Regions from separate parts of the Homo sapiens genome. Here region 2 is linked to region 1. The links are contacts of gene promoters, found by promoter capture Hi-C in blood cells and fetal thymus (Javierre and others, 2016). All regions are on one chromosome and are shown on one strand. The core of a region is centred on a gene start or on the middle of the fragment in contact, and the rest is flanking DNA. Distances in the headings are between cores, read along the strand shown.

What was found. Contacts are between HindIII fragments. The CHiCAGO score rates a contact against its expected background, and 5 or more counts as called.
Region 2: a contact is called between a fragment that was not itself captured here and the fragment with the promoter of LINC00466 in region 1, in 2 of 17 cell types (total B cells and naive B cells). The highest score is 16.4, in total B cells.

The regions. Positions count from the first base shown.
Region 1 is chr1:63,315,989-63,318,519 of GRCh38, reverse strand. It overlaps LINC00466 (long intergenic non-protein coding RNA 466), which reads left to right and starts at 1,263. Exons shown (of 12, transcript NR_038252.3): 1 at 1,263-1,462; 2 at 2,433-2,531. RefSeq lists a silencer at 938-1,117. The HindIII fragment of the contact is 23,330 bases long and covers 1-2,531 here.
Region 2 is chr1:50,420,747-50,423,277 of GRCh38, reverse strand. DMRTA2 (DMRT like family A2) reads left to right here. Exons shown (of 3, transcript NM_032110.3): 1 at 1-162; 2 at 1,734-2,300. The coding sequence starts at 1,742. Among named protein-coding and RNA genes, the nearest start is that of DMRTA2, 1.4 kb to the left of the region's middle. RefSeq lists an enhancer at 1,540-2,039. The HindIII fragment of the contact is 245 bases long and covers 1,137-1,381 here.

The DNA of each region.
Region 1 (2,531 bases), core at 14-2,513:
AAGGGCAGAGGTGGTACCCAAGGCCCCAACCCACCCAGATTACTTCCATTTCCCAAAGCGGGGGATTTTCAACTCTCTTACCCACCACTACCCCCTTGTATACCTCTCCGGATCTTTTCGGGGTGGAAAAAAAGAGGCTATTTTAATGTTCTTGTTTGGATTTGCATCTCAAAACTTCATTTATTTTCAAGATGTCTGCCACTCAGGGTCCACGCCAAGGCGTGCCTGTAAATGGCGAGAGACCAAAAGGAAAGGAGGAGAGAAAGAGGAAGAGAGAGAGGATGGTTTCGAATTTATTTATATTGGAAATATATAAACATCCATTCTGTAAAAGGCAACACGTTTAATTAACGATGAGAGAGCAGTTAGGGGCAGAAAGCTAGTAAAATTGTGTGATAAATTTATGGCATTGTTAGCGTGCTTTTAATTATGGCTATTATGTTAATTATTTCACATTAGCATGGAGTTATCAGCAGCATGTCGGATTTAATAAAAACGAGCCTTTCTCTCGAAAATTGTTCTTTTCATCCACGAGGAGAAAGGTCCTGGACAGGATCGGGGCTTAAAAATGACTTGGCATTGAAAGCCGGAGTCTTTCTGACACCGTTTGGAGCGATGCGGCCAGGCCCGGCTGTCCGCTGGGTCCCTCCAGGCTACCGGCAGCTCGAGGAGGAGCCCAGGGCTGGGTTTTTAGGAATTCACCATTTTCACCCCCTTCGGAGCCGACACTTCATCATGCGAGATCATTCTGTCAAACAATATGATGCTGCTCATTTTTATCTGTCCCGCTTTACAAAATCCCCATTCAGCCGGCCGAGGAGCAACAAAAGCCTCTGAGCAGCTCCGCAGCCACTGGCGGCCACAGCCTCCCCGGCGCGCGAGAAAGGCGAGAGGGGCCGAGGAAAGCAGGCGGCGGGCGCGCGCCCCTCTCCGCCGGAGGGAACGCTGCCTGCCGGGGCCTGCCAGCCCAGGTGTCGGGTCCTCGGGTGTGGCCCGGGCGGGACACGCCTCCCTCAGGCCCGCGCCCGCCCTCGGCCTCCCTGCAGGCGCCGGGCGAAAGCCCCCAATCCCTCCCCTCAAGCGACTCGCCCACCCAGGCCACATCGATTCTTTAATCACCGCCGATCGATTTATTGGGAGCAAATAAATAGACCGTTTTGGAAACGTTTCAATTGCTGGCTTGACGGTTGGGGCGCTGACGCGGGAGGGCGGGCAGGGCCGTGGGGCGCGCGCGGGAAGGGACTTGTGGGAAGGAAGGGAGCGGAAAGGCCGAGCGCCACCCGCCCCGGGAGTCTCCAGAGCAGCGCGCGGGGCAGACCTCCTCGGGTCCTCCGGCGCTTCGGTCTCCGGAGACGCCCGGCCTCCTGAAGGGTTCGGCTTGTCCTCCTCTGGCGCTCAGCTCCCTCTGGCGGCCGGGCTGGCAGGACCTCAGCGCCCAGCCCTTCCGTCTTGTTACGTCCAGGCAAGTTGGCCTGGCTTTCGGATGCCTCTGGACAGTCCCCGTCCAGGCCCGCGACCCAGCCCGAATGGAGGCCCCGGGGCCCACAGAGCGCGGCCTCCCAGGCCTTCCAGCCCTGGCTGCGGACGCCGCAGCCTTCTCGCCCCTGGGCCGGACGCGGCCTTCCTGCCCAAGACCACTGGGGCCCCCGCCCCTCCCGGGACAGGGCTGTGGACAGGCCAGCTGCTGCCTTATTTTTAGCGCCATTCCATTCGCGCGGTTATATTTAACTCGACCCACTCCTCCGAGGAGGTCGCTCGGACATCGAATTCTCCACATCGCAGCTTGGGCCTGCCCGCCTTGCCTCAGGGGTAGTTCCTCAAGGGACAGATTGGAAAACCCCTGCTTAAGAATCCTTGACATATCTGGAGCTTGGAGAGGACGGGACTGGGGGAGAGATCTGGTTCTAGGGGCAGTGGCCACCGCGCCTGCAGTGCACTGCGTGGGGATTCCGCCTTGTGTGGGGCGGGGGAGGGGAGGAAGGGACAGGATCAGTCCTGTGGGAAGGATTCTCTGCGGGGAGTATTGTGTCCATTTCCTACTTCTGCATGACTCAGAACACTAGGTGACCTGGAAGACCTCTCACGACCCTGCCCTTGGAAAAGTTTATCATTTAGCGTGAGTGCAGGAATCCCCTCTTCTCTACCCTCCAGTGCACCCAACGGGATATTTGATTTCAATGGTATGTTAGCTCCTTAGTTCCAGCCCAGTCTTCCCTTGGCAAAATCTTAAAAAGACCATGCCAAAGGCTCACTCACATCCTGGGGAAAGGACCCACTTGGATAACATACGGAAACACCATTGTGATACACGCTTTATTCACACAGAATGTCAGTTAGCAAACAATGCAGAAGTCATGTACTAAAGGTACACTAACAGATGTGACATGGATCGCGGATATCGAAACACATTTTTTTGTTTTTCTTTGAGACAGGGTCTCACTCTGTGTCTCAGGCTGGAGTACAGTGGTGCAATTGTAGATGGCTGCAGCCCTCGACCTCCTGGGCTCAAGTGATCCTCCTGCCTTAGCCTC
Region 2 (2,531 bases), core at 10-2,509, about 13 Mb after region 1:
CGTTCTGAGGGGTCCGGAAGTTCGGACATGGTGACTGAAGGAGGGTGACGTGGTCAGATAAGGGGCCGGGGGCAAAGGGAAGCGGCCAAGAGCTCCAGCGTCGCCAGTGGAGCCGGGAGGCGCGTGCAGCGCCAGCGGAGGAGGAGGATCCCGGAGCCCAAGGCAGGTAGTTGAGGGCCGCAGGGAGAGCAGTGGGTGGAGACCTGGTCTGCGGCCCCTGTTGAGGAGGCCTGGGCCCCGTGGGCCTTAGGGACGCCCGAAGGGTCTGGGAGAGGAGGCAACGCTCATAGAGAGGAGGTCTGGGACTCTCGGACGGAGACACAAGGACTCTGTCGCGGGCTCTGGCAGGGACGGGGAACGCGGGAAGCAGAGGAGACCGCGGCAGAAGCGGGGAGCTGGGCCTGCTTGGGCCTTATGGGGCTGCGGCGTGGGAGGGACTCTGGTGTCCGTTTATGGCCAGTTGCGAAGGCGACTCCCCTGGCTTGGTGCGGCCTGCTGGGCCATCCGTGTCCTAGGACCCCAACTCTGAGATCAGAACGCAGGAGCCTGCGCTCGAGAGGGGTCCCCTGGGACCCCAAGACGGGGAGGGCGTGTCTGACGACTCTGTCCCTAAACCCGGAGGGGAGGGGAGGGCAGTGTGAGGTGGTCTTCGAGAAAGATCCCCCTCCCGAAATGCCTAACTTTTCGCAGGATACGTCTTCCGCCCCGACTACTACTCCAGACTGCGAAGCTAAAAAACTGCACCACAGGTTTTACCCAATCCCCTCCCCCAGCATTTGCCTGTGGGGTTTTTTCTTACACATTCCCCTCTCCCAGGCGCGGCCCCTGGATCCCGGACACCCAGATCAGCTGCTTTTCACTGTTTTCCTTGCCCATGAAGCTCATCTTTGGGCTGGGTTTGCCTATACAGAAAGTTTCTTTGGCCGAATTTTTCTCTTTAATACTTCCCAGTCCTAAGCTAAATTCCACATACATTTTGTCTCTCACTCTCTGGAGGCCCTCACCGTGGAACTTTTGGCGCTCACATTTTTACGGGTCCCAGAGCCACTGGGCCTAACTTTGCCCAAGTTGTTTCCTCGTCCTCACTCTGCTTCCTAAAGCTATTCTTTCTGTTGTTGATTTTTCTCTCCAAAGCTTCTGCCCCAAACTGCATTAAAAATAAACAAACAAAAAGAAACAAAACTCCGGCCCAACCGGCCTTCACATCTGCGCCTTCACATCTCTCTCCTCTTCACCCTTCCACCAAACTGACCGTTTTGCTCCGGGTTTTCCTGTTTTGCCCTTGGCATCAGCCTAACTTCTGGGCCAAAACTGTCGCTCTAATCCCAGTCCCGTCAAACGAGCATTTCTCTCACCCGTCTCACCCCAATTAGGCTAAGCTTTGGGGTATCATCTTAACTTTTCCAAATTCTCATTACAGCCATCTGAATCAGTGACTTTCACACTTTACATGTCTCTTTATTTTTTCCAGCGGAATCACTAATTCAGACAAAATCTTACCCCTAGCGTGTATATCAGGTCTAAGAGCAGCCATGGCCAGACTGGGGTGAAGGTGCTAGGGCTCACAAGGAGGTTCCGACTGCACCTCCTCCCAGCAATTCTGGCCCCTCTAGCCCAGCCTCCGCGGCCCAAATTTCCCTCTCCAGCTTGGGTTCCTCAAGGCGGCGCTTTGGCCTAGCGCGCGGTGTGCTCCTCACCAGGTCTCTCCCCTCTCCCACCTTCTTTCCCGTCAGGTCCTGTCATGGAGCTGCGCTCGGAGCTGCCCAGCGTGCCCGGCGCGGCGACGGCGGCGGCGGCAACAGCGACGGGGCCGCCTGTGGCGTCGGTGGCGTCGGTGGCGGCAGCCGCGGCGGCCGCTGCATCGCTACCGGTGAGCGTGGCAGGCGGCTTGCTGCGGGGGCCGCCACTGTTGCTGCGGGCAGCCGAGAAGTACCCGCGGACCCCCAAGTGCGCGCGCTGTCGCAACCATGGCGTGGTGTCGGCCCTCAAGGGCCACAAACGCTACTGTCGCTGGAAGGACTGCCTGTGCGCCAAGTGCACGCTCATCGCGGAGCGCCAGCGTGTCATGGCGGCGCAGGTGGCGCTGCGCAGGCAGCAGGCGCAGGAGGAGAACGAGGCGCGCGAGCTGCAGCTGCTCTACGGCACTGCCGAGGGGCTGGCGCTGGCCGCCGCCAACGGCATCATCCCCCCGAGGCCCGCCTACGAGGTCTTCGGTTCAGTGTGCGCCGCCGACGGCGGGGGACCTGGAGCGGGAGCGCCCGCGGGGACCGGAGGCGGAGCAGCTGGCGCAGGGGGCTCAGGTGAGAGCGCGGCCAGGCCGCAGGTAGGGGCAGCAGGATCGTAGCTCTGGGGCACGGGGCCCAGGGGCTTGTCTCGGTTCAGAAAGAGTAGAACCCCCGTGTCCAGTCGCCGCGACTGCTAGGGTTCACCGCTCGCCCAGCCTCGGGTATGGAGCGTGGGTACAGAAACTCTCCTTTCTCCCGCTTCTGGAGCATTTGCACTTTACCCCTTTCTCCTGCATCGGGCCGAAA